Linked DNA regions of Homo sapiens: region 1 is linked to region 2. Evidence: promoter capture Hi-C in human tissues and cell types (Jung and others, 2019). All regions are on one chromosome and are shown on one strand. The core of a region is centred on a gene start or on the middle of the fragment in contact, and the rest is flanking DNA. Distances in the headings are between cores, read along the strand shown.

Region 1 (6,038 bases), core at 3,110-5,609, 400 kb before region 2:
GGAGGGCATGGAAGCTCCACACCCTTTGCCCCAGACTTCACCCTACACATCCCTTCATTTGTATCTTTTGTAATGTCCTTCTTAATAAACCAGTAAATGCAGGTGTTTCCCTGAGTTCCACAAGCTGCTGTCCAGAAAATTAATTGAACCCAAAGAGGGGTCTTAGGAACCCCAACTGGAAGCCAGTCAGCCGGAACTTCTGGATGCCCAGACTTGCAACTGGTGGCTGAAGAGGGGGACAGTCTTAGGGACTGAGCCCACAGCCTCTGGGATCTGACACTATCTCCTGGTAGATAGTGTCAGAATGGAATTGGAGGACACCCAGCTGGTGCCTGCTGCTTGGTATGTAGGCATCAAAACACTCTTTGAGGAGAATTTTCCTGAAACAACAAGTTACACGATTTTGGTCAAAGAGATGGTGATACCCAAGGCCCCCGAAGGAGCTGGTTATCCTAGAAGGTGTGATGTGAAGATGGGAGGTCTTTGAATGCTGCTGCCATTTTGCCCCCTAGAGCTTCTGGGGAGGGATGGAGAGAGGTGAGATACCCGGAAGAACAAGAAGATGATATCCTTCTTGATGAGACCATTTGAACCATGAGCTCAAATCTTGTCTGAAGGCTGTATATCTTGGAGCATTTTATTATGTGAGCCAATAAATCCCCTTCATGGTCTAAATTAGCTAGAGGTGTTTTTCTGTCACTTGCAAAAAGTCTTAATTAATACATAGGATCCTTTTTGCTCTATGCCATGTGGAGTGTTGCCGATGTGCTGACTTGGAAATAAAATCCAACTGAAGTAAATGTCTGAGAATATTTATGATCTTGTAAATGAACTCCTCAAATGTTTTGAAAGATCTTGTTCAGAATAGATTTAGTTGCCAGCCACTGAGTTTCTACCCTGAGGGGTTTTCTGTAAAACCCTACAGAAATTTTGAAGTTTGAGTGGTTCATTACTTAACAAATAACTGCTTAACAAATCACTGGAGACTATATATATTCAGAACTACTCATGGTATTTCACAGTCTTTTATACTACAACAAAATCTAGAGACATCTAGATTTGACTAAGAAATAAAAAACATACATTTAGAGTAATGTTTAATTCTTGAAATTCAAAGGAGGCTCCATAAGTGACTGGAAACAGAAAGTCTTTGTTCTCATAAATAAGATTTTAAATTAAAAGTGTAGAAGAGAATAATTCTCAGCTCTGAAGATTAAAGAGTACAAGCATGAGTACTAAGACAAAAATTAAAACCAGACTTTTTTTTTTAAAGAAAATATATCTAAGAATTCCTACCATGAAGACACAGAAGGTAAAAATTTGGCATTTAAAAATTGGTAGAAAGATGCTAGAGAGGTTTCTGGATTTGTTTGATTTTACTTGATGGAGGTATTAAGTCTGTATTTGATCACAAACTACCAAGGTTTGCTAAGGATGAGGAACATAATCAAATTGTAACCCATCTGCAACAAATTTATATTATTTCTTGTATTTTAGTCAGATAACATAGATTGGATTCATAATTCTCTTCCAAGAAGAGACCCTTTGAAGTTAAATAAGGATTTCAAAAATATACAGAAAGTTGAATTAGGAGAAATATAATATTAAGAGCTATTTCTTGGTTGTGTGTACAATGAAACATGTTTATCAAAGCTGTAGGGGTAGCTCTATTCCTTGTCAATGTGTTGTTCAGTGGTCTTAGAGTTTCCTCATCCAGAAGTAAAGACACTTTACCCGCAAGATTGGAAGGAAGTAAAGTTAACGCAAGAAGAGATTGAGAAATAAACTTATTTTCAAATCTATTGTACTTTGAATATTGTTTTATTGCTTAGTGCTGAATTTAAATTTACTTAGAGAGATTGTCATTTAAATAATGTTGAACACATCTCAGCCTAGATGGCAGCAGCAAATAAATGTTGTCTTGGTTTAGGAAAGCATTGCTTTTTTTAAATTTTTATTTGAAGTTGTCTTAGTTTGTTGTAGTTGTTTTGTTTTTTGGCCTATCAAAGTATGCTCCATCAATACTCCATGGTATGCAGGAGTGGTATGTTTTGGGGAGAATGTGGCCAAATTTGCATGGGGAACTAGAAGCTTTGGGGAAAATGTAGAGATTTATAATTCCTACCCTTTTGGGGTTCAGATTCTGTATATGGGACTGAGATGGTCTGCAAGGAGAATCTGGCCAAGAAGAAAAGGGTGAACTGGCCTAGACTCCTAAGCTCAATATCAAGGTCTAGATTATTGAGAGCTGGTTCCAGCAGAGTGCATGGCTTACTCTGACAAGGAAGATGTGCTTTTGGGAACTGTGGCCAAACAGAGTGGAAACCTGGGCCCATGCACAAAAGCCACAGCCTCAGAAAATGCGAAATCTACCAGTGAACTAGTCAGCTTTCCCAGGCTCCCTTGGCAAGATATTTGGAAGCAGGACTGGCCTGGCTGGACTCTGTAACCTCTTAGTGTTCTTGGGAGAAGCCCTCAAGAGAGAAAGCAGAATTCTGCACATCTGGGCAAGTAGCGCCCCAGTGATTAAGTAACTTGATTATTAAAGGAAGATGTGACCTTATTTGAACTTTGAACATGATCAAGCACATCATACTAATTAAAATAATATCATGCTATGATCTCAGCCAGTGCTGGATATTCTACACGCTAGATCCATTAATGACCAAACAGGCATGTTTGCTTCAATACAAGAATCCTCTCTGCATTCAAGACCAGACTACAACAGAATGCAGTTAACCTTTACTTGCATATACACTCGGTTCAATTTAGTACATCCGTGGAGGCAAAAGTAACTCCATCTTGGATGCTCATCTGCCATGTTATCTTCTGATTAGCCCCAGTTCTGGGAAGGCCTCTAAGCTTTCCAGTTTATCTATTGTTCTTTAGGTAAGAGCATGTATTTACGGTGTATTCCACCCTTGGGTCAAAATAGCCTTGATGTTATCATACTTCAGTTGTCTACACATCCCCTCTGAATCGCATACACCCTTTCCCTGTGATACGTATGCCCTGGATCTGGGGGGGTAATGGTGCCAGGATTCACCATGTGGTCTTGCCGCCACCTAAGACTATATCGTTCTGTTGGTAAGCCCCTATTAAACATTTCTTTTTGAGACACCAGGTATTTCAGCCTCTTTCTTCAGCCTCTCCGCCTCCTCAGACTTTGGGTTTAGGTTTGCATAAGCATGCCCGCCATTGAATAATGTCTTACATTTGTTTATTTTTAGCTCTGAAAAATATGTGATACAGACTGTCTTTATATTGTTATTCATACCTTAATGTTTCTCCCTCCTTAACGTTTTAATATATATATATATTTTTTGAGATGGAGTCGCGCTCTGTCGCCCAGGCTGGAGTGCAGTGGCTCGATCTCAGCTCACTGCAAGCTCCGCCTCCTGGGTTCACACCATTCTCCTGCCTCAGCCTCCCAAGAAGCTGGGACTACAGGCGCCCGCCACCATGCCCGGCTAACTTTTTTTGTATTTTTAGTAGAGACAGGGTTTCACCGTGTTAGCCAGGATGGTCTCGATCTCCTGACCTCGTGATCCGCCTGCCTCAGCCTCCCAAAGTGCTGGGATTACAGGCGTGAGCCACAGCGCCCGGCCTAACGTTTTAATATTTTAACTAAGTTATAAGTTGAAAGTTCTTGATCAGGTAAAACAAACTTTAAAAATAAAACTAGTTCACATTCTACTTCTTTAAGTTGGCTTATTTAACCACTCTTAACTACTTATTTAAGAACTCTCCTTCTTGGGTAAAATCTTTCAGAAATTTCTCCCTGCAATATAAAAAAAATGAATTGGAAAAATAAGTAGTATTAATGTATTTTTAATCACACTGAGTTAAAAATATGATGAAAGGATAAATTAAACTTCGTTAATGTGATATACTGATGGAAAAATCCGTATAGCCAATTTATATAGCAACATATTGTCATCTCTTGGTATCCACAAGGAATTGGTTCCAGGAATTGAATTCCACCCTGTGGATATCAAAATCCATGAATGCTCAAGTCGCTTATTTAAAATGGTATAGTATTTCCTTATAATCTATGTACAGCCTCCTGTATACTTTAAATCATCTCTAGATTACTTATACCTAATGCAATGTAAATGCTATGTATGTAATTATTATACTGTATTGTTTTTTAATTTGTATTATTCTTTGTCGTTTCATTTTCTATGGTTTGTTTTTAAATATATATATATATATAAAATTTTTTTTTTTTGTGATAGAGTCTCCCTCTGTCGCCCAGGCTGGAGTGCAGCGATGCGATCTTGGCTCACTGCAACCTCCGCCTCCCAGGTTCAGTTGATTCTCCTGCCTCAGCCTCCCAAGTAGCTGGGATTACAGGCACACACCACCATGCCCAGCTAAATTTTTTTGTATTTTTAGTAGAGACGGGGTTTCGCCATGTTGGCCAGGTTGGTCTCAAACTCCTGACCTCAGGTGATCTGCCCGCCTTGGCCTCCCAAAGTGCTGGGATATCAGGCATGAGACACTGCACTCAGCCATTTAAAAAAATGTTTTCAATGCACTTTTGGTTGAATTAGTGGATGTAGACCTGCAGATAAAGAAGATCAACTGTAATTATTAACCTAAAAATTAGTTTAATAGTTTTAATCAATTTTCTCACTATTCTACATCTGTTATTCTGAAAGTTGTTACATTGCTAATATTTCCAGAGCAAATTTTTAAAAATTTTAGGCTGAGTGTGGTGGCTCATGCCTGTAATCCTAGCACTTTGGGAGGCCAAGGCAGGAGGATCACTTGAGCTCAGGAGTTCAAGACCAGACTGAACAACATAGTGAGACCTCATTTCTATTTCTTTTTTTTTTCTTTTTCTTGAGGCAGAGTTTCACTGTTGTTGCCCAGGCTGGAGTGCAATGGCACGATCTCAGCTCACCGCAACCTCCGCCTCCCAGGTTCAAGTGATTCTCCTGCCTCAGCCTCCTGAGTAGTTGGGACTACAGGCATGCGCCATCATGCCCAGCTAATTTTGTATTTTTAGTAGAGACGGGGTTTCTCCGTGTTGGTCAGGCTGGTCTCAAACTCCCGACCTCAGGTGATCCGCCCACTTCAGCCTCCCAAAGTGCTGAGATTACAGGCGTCAGCCACCGCACCCAGCTCTATTTCTATATTAAAATGGATATTTAAAAAATTTTTAAACATTCTTAACTTATTAAATGATTGCATTTAATTAATACTTCAGGTAAAATGCTTCACACAATTTTTATCTCCCCCTCGATTTTAAACATTTTGTGAAAATAATGCTGTACTTGATACCATTAGATGATCTGGGTGGCAAATCAATTTTGAATGTTAATTGGGCCTTTCTGTTATAATTTAAGACTTTTTCTTTGTCTGATTACCAGCCATAGTCAAAATATTACTTTTCTTGAAAGGATTAAGTTACAAATTTGATTTCAGAAAAGATGACTCCCTGCAATTATAGCAATAATTGAACTCACTCAACGTCAGTATTTTATTTTCAGTTTATAAAAATCATAATCAACTTATTCAAAGGGCTTTATAACTGAATTCTTATCTCTTTTTTACAGAGAATATGACAGGGTTAGGAAGATATTTAGCCAGATAATAAAAAGATACCATTTCATCAGCAAAATATTGAAGCCATACTTAGCACTTTTTGAGCCAAGCTTGAAATGGGAATGAGTGAGTAAGAAGGACAACTGAAGGAGAGGCAAGATGAAAAAGGAAGATACTCTGCTAAGTGCTGGGGAAATTTCACTTTTGCCAACAACTCAGACTCAGGCCTCACAAACCCAATCAGAACTTAGGATTCGATGCCGGAAAAGAGATGTAATCCACACATTCACTACATGTTTACAGTACCTGCTATGCACCAGGCACTATGTGATATCTTGGCAGTGCCACTTGTGGGCAAAACAAAGTCACAGTTTTCATGACCTTAAGGTCCAGGGAGTGATATAATCACATGCCTAGATGAAGAAGAATAAGGACAGAGGGTCTGGAGAGTCAGGGAAGGCTGCCTGGAGGAGGTGACTTTTAAG
Region 2 (6,041 bases), core at 1,310-3,809:
CCACACAAAGGCACATTTAAACAACGTGATAAATGCTGTAATGAAGAAATGCAGAAAGCAAAGAAAAACTATAGCAGGGGGAGCTAGGCTGGAAGGTCAGAGAAGTCACCCATGGAGGAACTGACCTTTGGAAATAGAAGGATGAGTGGGGAGGATATTTAGAGAAAAGACAGGCAGCTCAGGCAGGCCAACGCCTGTACAAAGGCCTGCAGAGAGGGCAGCACACTTTTCACAACTGCCCCCTTAAAGTCCTGTAAATTGCCTGAGTGTAGATAAGAGATAATTTTTGAGGGGGGGAATCAATGTGTGTATGTAAAGGATTAATCTTCCCAAGTCATTTGAAACCAACCCACCTGTAAAAACATTAATTAACCTTTCATTTATCAAGCACTCTCAAGTTTATGATTTCCCCCATTATATACCAACACAATGATTTCTTATCTTGGGCATTCAGCTTTCTTGCTTTTACATGATCTGTAAGCAGAAGTCCTGTGTTGGCTGGGTGGGTGTGGGGAAACCGCCACAATTTCACTCACTGAAGACCCACCAGGATTGTCAAGCAGTAAGAAGATAAAACTGTGTAAGAAATCTGCTTAGCTTGCTTTTAAAGGTCAAGAGGATCCAACTGTGGAGTTTAAAGTTAAGTTACCAGGGGTGATGTTTAAAACAGTTTGAGAAGCACTGGTGGAACAATTCACTCTTTTTCAGCTTCCTGAATTAGAGAAACAGGGTAGAAGCTTGTGAAGAGAGCAACAGAAAGCAACTCACGTGTCTACCTGTGGGTGTAAACAGTGTGTGCACCGAATATGTCACGGCACGTTTCAGCCATGGGACTGTTTTTTGTTTGTTTGTTTGTTTGTTTTGGTCTTTTTTTTTTTTTTTTTTTTTTTTTGAGACGGAGTCTCGCTCAGTCGCCCTGGCTGGAGTGCAGTGGCGTGATCTTGGCTCACTGCAACCTCCGCCTCAAGCTATTCTCCTGTCTTAGCCTCCGGAGTAGCTGGAACTACAGGCCGCACCACCACGCCCAGCTGATTTCTTATCCCCCCTACTCTGCCCCGTTTTTAAGACAAGGCAAGAGAAAAAAGAGGGGTTCTCATACTCATCTATAGGTTACCGGAATGTCACATGGGATAAAGAAGGAACAATAAAGAGGAAAAAATACAGAGGAGGATTTCTCTGGAGTAGAACACACAACCACCCTCACCCTCCCAAACAAATTCTGTAATCCAATGCCTATAATATTCCATTCCACACAGAAGCCAGGTTCTTCGTAATTCCTCAGTTACTACATCTAGAAATTTACACGTAAGTAAAGGCCACCTTTCTTTCACCAAAACCTTCTAGGAAGAACAAAATGTGGCTGTGTACAAGGAATTCGAATTATTAATACGTTTATTTCTGTTCTCCTGCGCCACACTTTTGACTTTGCCGAGGGAAAAGGCAGGTGCTGCCAGTGCTCCCGGTAGACATGCGTCCCCAGAAGCCAAGTGCAGCCCGTCTGGTCCCTGCTGCCTAAAGTCCCTGTGCACTGCGACGACGACGCACGCTGGTTCCCCCCAAGCCGCAGTGGGTTGTATAACCACGCTTTGAACACCTAGCGGGAGCGTAGCGAGCTTCCCTCCCAGAAGCATCTGTTAGAAGTCACTGGTGTCGGTCCATAAAAGACCCACCAGGCAGGAGGGACCCCCAGACTCTGGGGGAGGGCAAGCGAGAGTTGCTGTTAAGACATCATCGCCGGGGGTAGTGCAGGGAGGTTGTAAATCTCTCTAGGAGCTGTGTGAGCCCCAAGTTCTGTGCCCAGAGCTGGCGGTGCAGCGCGGTGAGGAGCGCGCTGAGCCCGGCTGCACCCGCATTTGTGCGCATCAGGGAAGGGGGATGGGCGGAAATGCAAGAATACGGGGGTGGGGGGGAGTCTAAGAACGTCTCCCCGGGGAAGTGCCAAGGACATCCCCGCTCCTCCGTTCCATTACGTAACTCTTACATATTTGCTGGCATCTACGTGAATTTAACTACTTTTGAAAGTGGGAAGTCTCTAAATGGACTGCATTGAAAGCGTCTGGGGATATCTCAATAGACCCGGTTGCCCCTGGCAGCGTTGGAGGGTGGCATCCTGGTTACTGGAAGGCCAGGCCTCCCCGTCCGCTCGCAGCGGCGGGAGCCGGGTCACTGCCGGGGACGGCGCCCTCTCGGCCCGGCCGGCCCCGCGTGGCGGAGTCGCAGGGACCCGCACGTCCGCAGCCGCCCCCTCCCCGTACCCGGCGAACACCTGCCCATGGTTACCTCCGGCGCCGCGGCTCTGCGCAGCCCGTTGGCCGGAGCCTCGCCGCCCTTGCCGTTGGCTGCGGGGAGATGCTCGACCCCGGGGACCCGCGCCGCGCGCTCCGTGGGGTCCGCGCCGTTCTCCCGGGGGCCTTCATCCGGAGCGGGGAAGAGCCCGCAGCGGCGCTGGAAGCGGGCGACGAGCTGGGAATCCTGCAGGCTCCGCAGCAGCTCGGCCATGGTGTGCCCGGGGCCGCGCTCCGCCGCCGCTGCCACGCCGGGCCGGTGCCCTCCGCTGGCACCGCCACTCCCGCCTCGCCCCCGCCGATCCCGCACTCCGGGCGGAGGCCGGGCGGGCGGGGCCCCGGGCCCAGCCAACAGGTGCGCCGCCCGGGTCCTAGCGCCCGCCCAGGTGTCTGCCTCCACCTTGCGCAACGCGTCCCCCTTTCTCTCCGTCCCGGAGGGCTTGGGCGGCCCCGGGCGGCCACGGGGGCAGGACCGCCTGTAACTGGACGGAGGAGTGCCGATCTCCGAACTGCGCCTCTCTTCTCCCGGCGCCCCCAACCCCCCACCCCACCTTCTTCCCCCGGCAGACGTAACACTAATGGGAGCGGCCGAGCGCGCGTGCACCTGCGGCCGCTCCCATTAGCCCATCCTTTTGGGCTCAGGCTGATCCCACAGTGACCTTCCTTGCAACTCTGAGCCCAAGGTGAAGTCGGATTTCCTCCCACGCCAGCTCCCCACAGCCAGCCACGTACTCTCACCTTCCTGCAAGACTAGTTCCCAGTAAATACAGCGAGCCCCCCAGGGAGAATTCCCAAGTTCTTTCCAAACTGCGTGATGCAACGTCTCCCTAGAGGTCCGAACACCCTTGAGCTTGCTCAAGTACCCAGGAGGTTCAAAGTGGGCCCTGAGTCATCTTCCGCGTCGCTGCCCCTGCCCTTCTGATTTGGCAACTGGGGAACATTTTCAGGTGGGTGGGAAGGAAAGTCCCTTCTGGGTTTTCCGCATTGAGAACAAAGATGCTTACCGCTTTCTCCTACTTCTTTCTTTCCGCTCTGCCTCTCTTTAAGCAATGACACTGGGAAAACCCCACCAGACCATTTAGGGAGTTTAAACGAGAAGAGAACAAAGTGCTGGAGGACTGGGGACAGGATTAGGTATCTCATTGCACCTGCACCTGCTTTAGAGCACTCAGCAGAAGATAGCAAAGGAAACATCCTGCAGGCCGGCCTTGGTTTTCCCTCCTCCCTCCTACATTTCCCTCCTGGGCTCAGAGATCCCTTGGGAGGCAACAATCAAATTAGGCCCAGGTGATCAGTCTGCAACAAAAGTGCAATTCAACCCCGTCTTTCGTTTGCAGCAGAAACCTGCATGTTTCCTGATTGTCCATGCAAAGCCTACTAAGAATTTGGTTGCACAAATGATTAATGAACACCTGTCAATGCCTTATTTATTCAGTTGTCCTTTTAGGCCTGAATGTCTTTGGGATGTGACTTTCCAGGATGATGTAGTCCCCTTCATGCCCTAGTTTCTACTTTTCTTGCTTCTCAGTCCTGTCTGGAGAGCAAAGTCAAGGGGACTGAGAGAATGCTGAAGCTCTTAAGGGAAACCATTTTCCTCTTACAGAAGACACGCAGAGTTATTGTCATGTCTGGCGGGATCACACACAGAAATGTCCGGCCCAGGAGGTGGAAGCATCTCTCCACAATGCTTCTGGCTGTCATTTACAGGTGTGAGGCAAAACCCTGTGGTTTGGTTTTAGAAGCTGGAGCTGTGATCGTTGGGGACCTGTTCTGCTTATGTGTTAAAGAAATATGTTTTCCTGTGAAGGCACTTGCATCATGTGTCTCCCGAATTTAGTGCTTCGATTTTTCTTTCTACCAGTTAGGAAAAATAGGCAAAGCAAAACATGGCACACGCAGCATTAAGTTAATTGCCAAAGAATTGTATTTGTAGACAGAGCATTTTATCTCCATGGAGGATCAGTTACTGATTCCAGCTTCTAGTGGCTCACCAAGTCACCTGATGTAAGTCACCATATGTCGCAGTTTATCCCTGTAATGAAATGATAATCCTCACTTCTTGTCTTTCTTATAAGGCTCTTGTAAAAATAACCTTGAGACAAGCTCTATAAGGCCTAGTGAGATCATGATAAGAAGGTGTATTGTGCTGGAGTCATTCAATCTAGGAAGGAATCCTCAAGAGAATTTGGCTCTGAACATCTTGAGTAGGACATCTTGAGCCTCCTGGGCAGTGGTAAAGTCCATTTCCCCAGAACCTTTTTTTTCTAAGGCCCAGTCTGATTATTCTGAACATGAATTTCCCAACCAACCTAACAAAAATCAACATCTTTGAGAAGTGGTAGGACTGAAAGACTGCTGTAATGGTGCAGAGATATCAAATAGTAGCTTGCAGTCATGCAAAAAATTTTTTTTTCTTGATACCAGAGAAACACCCTGTAGTTCTTTGATCACTGAACACTAGTCATACCTGTGGGAAATACATTTCACATCCCGCCCCCCGACCTTTTTTTTTTTTTTTTTTTTTTTTTTTTGCCAGGGCAGAAATCCAGTTATTTGTACTTTGCTCACTTGTATATATGTAACAATTACAAAATGACATATTTAAAAGGAATCAATGATGGATATATTAATACTAGTTCGGATAAAGGTTAAGCTACTATAACAAAGAGACCCCAAAATAGAGTGGCTTAAGGAACACAGACATGTATTTCTCTTTCATAGAATGGTTCTAAGGCAAGCAGTTGAGGTTAGTAGGAAGCTCTGCTCCATGGCCCTACTCCATGACTCTGGTTCTTTTCATCTTATTGCTCCACCATGCCCTGAAACTGAGCCTTAGGTCATCGTCCTCTTTTGCATGGTTGAATCTGGGTTAGGGCTGAACATCTGAAGTTCAGCTCCTGAAAGGGTGAAGAGAGAGAGTGTTCTGAGCAGCAATGTCTTATTAAGCAAGTGAGGCAGAAGTTCACACATCACTTTCACTAACATTCCATCAGTGAGAAACAATTGGAAATGTTATCTCTAGCAGGGCAACCTTATGTCAAGCTTAAGCTATATTCCTGTGGAAGAAGTGGAGGACAGAATTTTTTTGTGGGCAACCAGCAGTCTCCACCAGTATTAGGAAACTAATGTTGGTTAAAATGTTGTACAGTAAAAATCCATGTTATAATTCAGCCATAATCTACACATTTTATCTAGGCAGCTTGTCATTCACTTGGCATGTTATAAATACTCATGTGCAGATAGAATTTTTTAAAAGAAGCCACACTAAAAATAAGTTATTCCAAAAGACAATTGGCCAGGCATACATGCCTGTAATCCCAGCACGTTGGGAGGCTGAGGCGGAGGATTGCTTGAGGCCAGGAGTTCAAGACCAGCCTGGGCAACACAGGGAGACTCCATTGCTACAAAAAAATTGTAAAAGTTAGTCAGGCATGGTAGCATGAACTTGTAGCCCTAGCTACTCAGGAGGCTGAGGCAGAAGGATTGCTTGAGGCCAGGAGGTTGAGGCTGCAGTGAGCCATGACCACACCACTGCACTCCAGCCTGGATAACAGAGTGAGATCTTATCTCAAAAAAAAAAAAAAATGGGGGCAGGGACACCTGGTAACCTTTAATAAGTTAAAGTAATTTTTTAAGTGTTGTCAAAATACCTTCATTATAAATGAAAAATTTTGGTATTAATTACATTATTGCATTTTAAGTTCTGATTTAGAGTTATTTCTCTGCAAAGCACGTTACTTCCAAATTACAACTAGA

What was found. Contacts are between HindIII fragments. The study calls those that stand out against the background at their distance.
Region 1: a contact is called between a fragment that was not itself captured here and the fragment with the promoter of SGPP2 in region 2, in 1 of the 25 tissues and cell types used here (heart left ventricle).

What each region holds. Positions count from the first base shown.
Region 1 is chr2:222,820,112-222,826,149 of GRCh38, reverse strand. No RefSeq gene overlaps it. Among named protein-coding and RNA genes, the nearest start is that of ACSL3, 38 kb to the left of the region's middle. The HindIII fragment of the contact is 3,763 bases long and covers 2,478-6,038 here.
Region 2 is chr2:222,421,061-222,427,101 of GRCh38, reverse strand. SGPP2 (sphingosine-1-phosphate phosphatase 2) reads right to left here and starts at 2,559. Exons shown (of 5, transcript NM_152386.4): 1 at 2,281-2,559. The coding sequence starts at 2,499. RefSeq lists enhancers at 1,566-1,625, 1,676-1,825, 3,016-3,315 and silencers at 2,126-2,175, 2,186-2,415, 2,506-2,855. The HindIII fragment of the contact is 9,125 bases long and covers 1-6,041 here.